Regions from separate parts of the Homo sapiens genome. Here region 2 is linked to region 1. Evidence: promoter capture Hi-C in 16 types of primary human blood cells and fetal thymus (Javierre and others, 2016). All regions are on one chromosome and are shown on one strand. Each heading gives the region's core, a stretch centred on a gene start or on the middle of the fragment in contact. The rest is flanking DNA. Distances are from core to core; before and after follow the strand shown. Region 1 holds the start of KLK9 (kallikrein related peptidase 9). Region 2 overlaps SIGLECL1 (SIGLEC family like 1).

Region 1 (4,718 bases), core at 1,287-3,786:
GTGGGCACGGGGGACCCCACCTACCACATAACAACCGCCCCACCCCTGCCCCCACAGGTCTGGTGGCTTCTGTGGGAGCGGCTCTGTATGTCTAAGTGGTGTGTGTGTATACGTGTGCGTGTGTATGAAAGGGGATGGGATATGGAAAATCCCCAAATTGGGGGTCATCTCTGGCCTCAGCTTTTCCTGTCTATCATATCCTTCACCCTTCAATGCATGTCTTCCTGGTGTCTAACCTTAAGCCCTCACCACAGTCTCAGCGCACTTGTTTCATTTCTGGTCCATGCCCTAGACAGCTGGGATCCTTTCGGGGATGACAAGTCCATTCCCCAGCCTCTGACCTCTGACATTAGGCAGCAGGCTAATGACTGCGAATTCAGGGTTGGGGAACCAGAAACATCTGTGTCTGTCTCTCTCTGTCATTCTTGCTGTCTTGGCTCTGGATCTGGAAAAGTAGTCCTCACCCCTACATCCCTTCATCCCCCTACCCTTCCCCTGCCTCTCACTCTCTTCCACCTTCATATCTCTGCATTTCTCCTGCTTCACTTTCGGCTGAAATCTGAACATCGTTCTCCCAGTCTGATGTATAGGCTTAAGTTAAAGGAGGTTCCATCATGGAGCAATGCATGATGGGAAATTCCCACACAGCATCTCTTACCACAATCAGTGCTTTACTCATGGAGGGAAGAAAATTGGAACAGTATGGATGGTCACTTTTCAGAGGCAATGGAGAGAGGATTCCTGCATCAGGTGGATTCCAGGATACTATTAGAATGCCCAGAACCTAAGATTCTAGAATTCTCAGATTCCGACACACTATTATCCATGATTCTAGAATCTAGAGGCTCAAGGTTTAGAGTTTTATGAATCCAAGATTCTAACATTCCAGATTCCCCTGGATCAAAAAAACTCCAGGATTCTAACATTATCTGAATTAAATCTAAGATTTGAACATAGAATTTTAATGTTCTAGGACAAAAAGACTAGAATTTTGGCTGGGCGCGGTGGCTCACGCCTGTAATCCCAGCACTTTGGGAGGCCGAGGCGGGCAGATCACAAGGTCAGGAGTTCAAGACCAGCCTGGCCAATATGGTGAAACCCCCGTCTCTACTAAAAAAAAAAAAAAAAAAAAAATAGCCTGGCATGGTGGTGCATACCTGTAATCCCAGCTACTCAGGAGGCTGAGGCAGGAGAATTGCTTGAACCCGAGAGGCAGAGGTTGCAGTGAGCTGAGATTGTGCCACTGCACTCCAGCCTGGGAGATAGAGGGAGACTCTGTCTCAAAAAAAAAAAAAAAAAAAAAAAAGAAAGACTAGAATGTCATCATTCTATAAATCTATAACCTTAGAAATTTAAGAGTCTGGGATTCAAATAGTTTAAGACTACAGAATTATCTGAATCTCAATATTCTAGGATACTGTGAATCAAAGATTCTAGTACTGTGAGTTTCAATATTCAATGAATCTAGAAAGCTCTGAATTTAAGATTCTAGGATCACACTAGCCATTATGGCTATTGAACACTTGAAATGTGGCTAGTCCATTTTGTAACAGGCTATGTGTGTAAAATACAGAACAGATTTCAAAGGCTTAGTACCAAAACAAAAGTAAACTGTATCGTTCATACGTATTTAAAAATTGATTACATGTCAAAATAAGTTTTTGGGTATGTCAAGTTAAATCTATTAGAATTAATTTTACTCATTCCTTATTTTTTAAATGTGTCCACCAGAAATTTAAACTTACACATGTGGCTGGCATCATAATTCCTCTGGGCAGTGCTGACCCAGACTGCTAAGATTCTAATAGTCTGCGAATCTATGATTCTAAAATTTGCTGAGGCTATTGCAGAATTTCATAAATTCAAGATTTTAGGATTCTACGATTCTGGATTTCTCTGGGTCAGTCTCGGATTCGAAGAGCCTAAGTTTCGAATCTTAGACTTCTCAAATGAGATATTGCTGGTCTCTAGAATTTTAGGATTTGGGAGGCTACCCTTCCTACTTCTAAGAGTTGAACTTGTGGTATCAGAAGTGGAGGCTCCGCACTTCTGGCCTAAAGCACCCCTCACCCTCTCCTGACCCCCAGCCTCTGTCCCTCCCCAGCATGGCCAGCCTGGGTCACTCACGGCTTGCGGCAGTGGGCAGCTGTGAGCAGCCAGCGGTCACTGATGAGGGTCGCCCCACAGAAGAGCCGAGTAAGGTGGAAGAGGCCGGCCTGCCAAGGCTGGGAGTTGGGGCGACATTCCTCGGCCCCGATGGCACGGGTGTCTGCCCAGCCATGCCCTGGGGTGGGGATGAGGGACAAAGGGGTCAGCGAAGAGCAGGCTGGGAGGGCAGGGAGAGGATGCTGAGAAGCCTAGAGGGCAGGAGGCAGAAGCCTGGGATGGGAGGGAAGAGCAAGGTGACCTTAGTACAGCCGTGAAGGGGCAGCCAGCCTGGGAGCCTCACCTGCCAGCAGAGAGAGCAGAGCACAGAGGAGTCCCAGCTTCATGACCCCTGGGCACCTGGATCCTGGAACGTGCACCCGGCGTCCAGTGCTTCTTTATGGTAAGCCATGCCATCTCCTTCCTCCTCCATGGGGCCGCCCCTGTGATTAATCGGGGTTGGGAAATGTACCTGGGGGAGGGGGAAGCCCTGGGGCTGTGACAGGGGCCTTGGGAGAGGAGGTAAGTGCAGGGGGACCCCCCTTTTGGGATGAACTGGCGGCTTGCTGGGCCAGAGCTTGACTGAATGGAGGAGGAGTGCTGGGGGTGTGGAGAGGTTGTGGGCACCTCCTCTGGGGTCTTCAGAGTGGGAGACCTCATTCCTCATCACCTTAGGCTACAAGATACAGAATCTTTTGTGTCCTGGAAAAGGAGGGAGATCCTTGAAGCCTAAGGTCCTGGGGTGCAGCAGGTTTATTTTGGATAAAGCAGTGGTGTGCAGAGACCAACCTCCCACGGCAGGCTGGAGGGATGTGCAGGGGGACCACCCAGAAAGGAGGCGAGGGGTGGAAGACAGAGTCAGGACTCAGACACAAGAGCAAAAGATACAAAGAGAGGGAGGTACAGGCACAGAAGGACCCAAGATGAGAGGAGGAGTGGGAGGAGGAGACAGAACACGGGAAAGATTGAGGGAAATCCAGGTGGAGTGAGGCAGAGACCACAGGCAGCTGCACAGGTTTACACACCTTGCAGAACCTTCCCTGCCCTGGGGATTTGGGCCTCTTCCCACAAGGACAAGGCCCTCTCCTAGAATGTTGAGAAATCTGGTTCCATCTGGATTAACCCACTCTTGTCATAACCTGCCCCCTTCCCCACGGCTCCACCACCCAAGGACCCAGGTGCCCAACCTTCCAGGTAGCAAGTGCCCTGTGCTCTCTCTTAATACATCCTGATCTTTGCCAAATCCTGAGAACATTTGCTATATATTTTTTTCATCCATCTCCCTGCCCCCCACCCCATTGTCCCTTCCATCACCCCATCCTCCCTGCCTCTCTCCTCATCATTCCTTCTCACCAGGTGGACAGCTTCTGGAGGGCTGGGCCCAGGTCTGACTCATCTCTGTGTCCCAGCATCACCCCGTTCCAGGCGGAACAGGGCTTGCAGAAGTCCTCAGGAGATGTTCATTGAATGAGTGAATGTCTTTCTCCATATCCTTCTTTTCCTGGTGAACTCCCACTCATCCTTCAACACCCAACCTCAATTCTCCCTCCTCCAGGAAATCTCTGAGATCCTCAGGCAGAGTCCATCTTTGCCTCCCCTGGGCACTTACGATCCCTTCCACTTTCTCCTGCTCACAGGCCTGGTTATGAAGCTGGGTCTGGGCTCCCCTTGAATGTTCTCTCACTGTGTCGTCATGGTTTGGAGCATGGACTCTGGAACTGAACCATGTGTGTCCAAATCTCAATGATTAGGTGTGATTAGTGATGAGGTGTGTGACTTTGGGCAAGTCACAAGACCTCTCTCAGTTGCTCCATCTGTTTTTTGTTTGTTTGTTTGTTTGTTTGTTTTCCAAAACGGAGTATTGCTCTGACACCCAGGCTGAAGTACAGTGGCGCGATCTCAGCTCACTGCAACCTCTGCCTCCTGGGTTCAAGCAATTCTCCTGCCTCGACCTCCCAAGTAGCTGGGACTAAAGGCGTGCGCCAAGACACCTGGCTAATTTCTGTACTTTTAGTAGAGACGGGGTTTCACCATGTTGGCCAGTCTGGTCTCCAACTCTTGACTTCGTGATCCGCCTGCCTCAGCCTCCCAAAGTGCTGGGATTACAGGCGTGAGCCACCGCACCTGGCCTGCTCCATCTGTTAAGTAGCAGTAATAACGAGGGTCGTTGGGGGGATTAAGCAAATTTACACACATGAAGCACAACAGTGTCTGACACATGGTAAATGTTCAATGTCTCTTCATCCCCTGCAGAAACCTGTGGTGCCTTTATCATAGCTCATTTCACCCTTGCCTGCAGTTGTCTCACTCCCTTTCCAGACAGGGAAGTCCTTGAGATCAGGGACTGGGTATCCACTATGTGCTAAGTGCCACCTTAACTGCTATTAAGAGCATTTTAGACCAAGCGCGGTGGCTCACGCCTGTAATCTCAGCACTTTGGGGGACCGAGGTGGGTGGATCACTTGAGGTCAGGAGTTCAAGACCAGCCTGGCCAACATGGTGAAACTCTGACTCTATTAAAAACACAAAAATTAGCCAGGCATGGTGGCGGGCGGCCTGTAATCCCAGCTACT
Region 2 (4,718 bases), core at 1,427-3,926, 250 kb after region 1:
ATATGTATACACACATGCACGCACACACACACACACACCCCATTCAAATAATGTCATTTTGTTCAACATTGTCTAATCATAAGAGAAAAAAATCAATTCCCAGCCAGTACCAGTATCTGTGTGGAGTTTGCATGTTCTTATATATGGTAAAATTGGTTTCATTTTACATCATTTCACTTAAAGCAGCAGTTTCCAAGAACTGAATGATGATGTTAAGTGAGGATTTATTGTGCACACACACATACACACACAGTGGAAGTTATTCAGCCTTAAAAAAGGACATCTTGCCATTTGCAGCAACGTAAATAAACCTGAAAGACATTATGCTATGTGAAACAAGTCAGACACAGAAAGACAAGTACTGCATGATCTCACTTATATGTAGAATCTAAGAAAGTCAAACGCATGGAAGCAAAGTATAGAATGGTGGTTGCCAGGGCTGAGGGCTAAGGGAAATGAGATATTGATCAAGGGGCACAAAGTTTCAGCTAGGCAGAATGAATAAGTTCTGGAGGTTTCATGTGCACCATGGTGACTATGGTAAATAACACTGTACTGTATACTTGAAATTTTGTGACAGTAAATATTAAGTGTTCTCACCACCAAAAAAATGGTAACTGTGAAGTGCTGATTATGTTAATTCACTGGATTGTGGTAATCATTCCACAGTGCATACATACATCAAAACGTCATGTCGTACACCTTAAGTATATACAATTTTTATTTGTCAGTTATACCTCAATAAACCTGGAATTAAAAAACTGAAAATTCTATAATCTCATCTCTGATCACTGCTCTAACCATAGGTAAGCACTGGTATCAAATTATACATCATTCTAGATCTTTGTTTTACTCATTCATGTATGTATAGTTTTGAGTGTATTATATATGAATATGTAGATACATATTTACATATTATATATATAAAGCTTTTATATAAATGACAAATGATCCAGTTTTCATTTAAAGATTGTGAAATATTTCAGACATATAGAAAGATATAAATATGGTATAATGAGCATATACCCACCACCAGCTTAATATTGAAAACACTGGCTGGGCACGGTAGCTCACACCTGTAATCCTAGCACTTTAGGAAGCCCAGGTGGGAGGACGGCTTGAGCCTAGGAGTTCAAGACCAGCCTGGGCAACATAACAAGATCCCATCTCTACATAAATTAAAAAATTAGTCAGGCATGGTGGCACATGCTTGTAGTCCCAGCTACTTGGGAGGCTGAGGTGGGAAGATTGCTTGAGCCTGGGAGGTCAAGCCTGCAGTGAACTGTGAATGCTCCGTTGCACTCCATCCAGTCTGGGTGACAGAGCAAGAAACTGTCTCAAAAAAAAAAAAAAGAAAAGAAAAGAAAGAAAACACTACCCCTGGTATACTCCCTTCCCCAAACACATCTCCCACTCTCAAACATAGAGATCGCTGCTATTCTGAATTTGACATTTTATTCTGTGTACTAAGGAACTTAACCTTGCCTGAAGAGAAGTCTGGCCTTTGCCCTTGGCTTCTGGAAGACACTCCCTAGCTCTTAGAATGTCACACCTCATAGGGGTGTCTTTGTTTGCCCAGGGACCTTGCATCACACTGAATATTCTAGAAATGTGATTTAGGATGAGGGCTGGCCACACCAGATAATGTTAACAATGTGATTTAGAGTGGAAGCAATACCAGATAGTCTAACAATGTGATTTAGAATAGGGGCTTTGGATCAAATGGTATCAGCTCAACTTCAGGAGGAGCTGGATGCTAAGATCCACCATGAGGGAAGTCACCATGTTACACGATGGAGGCCCAATAAAAACACTGGACACAAGGCTTGGGTGAGCTTCTTTAGTTGACAGTACTATGCATATTGTCACACATTATCACCAGGAAAGCTAAGTTATGCTGTCCATGACTCCACAGGGAGAGGATAACTAGAAGCTTTGTGTGGGGAACTTCTGGCCTCTGCCCTGTATGTCTTCCCTTGGCTGATTTTAATCTCTATCCTTTAGTTGTAGTAAACAGTAATCACGAGTATAACAGCTTTCAGTGAATTCTGTGAGTACTTCTAGTGAATTACCAAACCTAAGGGTAGTTTTGGGGTTCCAAAACCTTGCAAATGATTTGAGAAATGAGGGTAATCAGGGATCCTTGATATCTTCAGTTGGTGTCAGAAATGAGGGGATCTTGTGGACCATTCCCTAACTTTTCAGTTGTATCAGAAATGGGATTCACTAGAACAGCCCTGACTCACTGAAACATATGGTTTGAAAAGAGGAAGGATGTGAAGTCAAGATGATAAGCCTTTGATTCCTGGGCTGTCCTGCGGTCACCTGTGCGTATAGAAATGCAGCTGTTCTGCAAACAGTTACAGGAGGTAAAAGTTACCATTGCTTTTTCAATACAATGGATCCAACCCCCAAGGAGCTGACCCACTGGATGCATAAGGAAACAAACTAAATAGGCAGTCCCTTGGCTATTTTTATCTGTAATCGTTAAAATGAAAGTGGCTGAGGCGGATCCTGATGCTGGCCCAATCTTGGGCTCTGGCCAGCCTGAGCTACAGCTGCTAGCCTCAGGGCTGTGGCTAAAGGGAAAAGTTAGGCTGAAATGACAGATGGCAAAGAAAATTAGAGTGGTTCACCAGAGAGTGAGAAAAGACGAACATTTCCAAGAGGGTGGAAATCTTTATAAACAGTTATTAAGAAATGAGATGAGTTAAGTGGACATTGAGGGAGTCTAAACAAAGGTCTCAGTGGAGCACTCTTAGAAATTAGGTGGAGCAGTGAGAACCTAGACTTGCCCTCCAGTGTTGAAGGTCCCCCATCAAGTCTGCTATATTTACCCTAGTTTGGAGGAATTTTAGAAGCCAGAAGGCAAACATGACAATGGGAAATCTGACCTCAGATCTCCTGAGGGGACGAACATGTGATCTAATCAAGATAAATGACAAAAGGGCCTGGGTTGCTTGGCCTGACCCCTAACTGAAGACCCAAAGTCATATGCATATTAGTAGTAAAATAGTCAGGGGATGGATAAGAGATATTTCTGGGACTCATGTGGGAGTCTTATACCTGCATTCCAAAAGGTTGGTGAAATTCTAATAGCATCTATGGTTAGATTGCGAAGACATAGGATTACAAAGTGGATGAGATTCAGGCGAAACTTTGGATGAAAATTGGAATGTTTGGACAGACTATGTAAATATGTTATGTGAATGTATTTACCTAAATGTATTATGAGGAAAGATATTGTGTCCAACTATGGAAGAGTTCCCCTACGTACTATTATGAAACAGAAGGCATGTAAATCTTCCCTTCAACCAATATTGATTGAATATGCTAAATAGGAACCAATAAGATTGCCCAAGCCCACACTAATTGTTAATTTGAAACAGTACAGGATATCTGGTGGACAAAACATGTTAGAAGCTTAACGTTTGCTTTATTTAGGCAGACTGGAGCTAAGGCCAGTGAGCACCACCCAGTGGTGAATGCTGGGATTTGGGGCCAGAAAATTTCCAATGGAGAGACAACTAGCTGCCTATTGGGCTTTGAGTCTGCCCCATCATTGAAGGATATAATAATCCTGACACCTGAAATCCTCATGATGTGTTTGTCATGTTGGAAAAACACTGTAGTAAGGAAGGCCATGCCCAAAAGAGTCTCGTAATAAAATGGAAATTGTTTATACAGGAACATGCTACCAGGGAAATGCAAGGAGGTCCTCGTTATATTTATGAACAGGTGGCTTTTTCCCTACTGAAGAGCTGCGAGATCCTATTATTACTTGAATGATGTCTATTAATAGCTCTTGATTGACCAACTAAGAGCGGTTTGATTTATGGATGGCAATTCCAAAGTGAATTAATAACATCCTGTTTGGAAGACTGGCACTCATACTGAGGAAGGCAAAAACAAGTCACTTCAGTGGGCTGAACTGCCTCCACATTTGGGTTTTTACCAATTCATGGGCAGTGGCCAATGGCCTGGCCATATGGTCAGGCAGATGGGCAATGGGAAACTGTACTATTAAAAGGATGCCTATATAGGGTACAGCCTTATGGAATTCACTATAGCCAGTATCTCAAAAGACCTGTTCATACCCCCTACAAATGATAAAATAAACAGAGAAACAGACCTCTTCCTCCCAAAAAGGCAATTAATATCCTACCTTTTATGCTGGACATTTCTTGGCAACTTTTAAAGGATTTTTACTACTTGTGTGTGCGTTCTTAAACACTTGATTTTGCCCGGTTTTTTTCAAATTTTAAAGAAATGCTCATACATTATTACTTATTTGTGTCTGGCTTTGTTCATTCAATATTTTATTTGTAAGAATGGTCCATGTTGTTGCATCTAGCATTAGCTCATAGGTTTTTGTTGCTGTGTAGTATCTCATTTTTTAAAATTCTCTGTTTACTGGCATTTGGATTGTTTACCTTTTTAGCTATTTTTAAATAATACCACTGTAAACATTTTTGCATTCCTTTGTGGCGTACATATGCACAAACATTTCTATAAAGTATACATCTGGGAGTGGAATTGAGGGTCATAGAGTATGTGTATCTTCTGCTTTGATAAATAACTTTGTTGCCCTGATTTATATTTCCACCAATAGTGTGTGAAAGTTGAGTACCACATTCTCACCAAGACTTGATATATTGTCTTGGATATGTACTGGTATCTGATGGTTTTAACAGGCATTTTGCTGGTTATTAATGAGA

The links. Contacts are between HindIII fragments. The CHiCAGO score rates a contact against its expected background, and 5 or more counts as called.
Region 2: a fragment that was not itself captured here is called in contact with the fragment with the promoter of KLK9 in region 1 in 1 of 17 cell types (naive CD4 T cells); the score reaches 5.5 in naive CD4 T cells.

Annotation. Positions count from the first base shown.
Region 1 is chr19:51,007,056-51,011,773 of GRCh38, forward strand. KLK9 (kallikrein related peptidase 9) reads right to left here and starts at 2,537. Exons shown (of 5, transcript NM_012315.2): 1 at 2,450-2,537; 2 at 2,128-2,284. The coding sequence starts at 2,492. RefSeq lists enhancers at 1-23, 2,420-2,920. The HindIII fragment of the contact is 11,592 bases long and covers 1-4,718 here.
Region 2 is chr19:51,256,071-51,260,788 of GRCh38, forward strand. All of the region lies in intron 1 of SIGLECL1 (SIGLEC family like 1), which reads left to right. All of the region lies in intron 2 of LOC107985327 (a long non-coding RNA gene), which reads right to left. Among named protein-coding and RNA genes, the nearest start is that of SIGLECL1, 7.4 kb to the left of the region's middle. The HindIII fragment of the contact is 1,490 bases long and covers 1,932-3,421 here.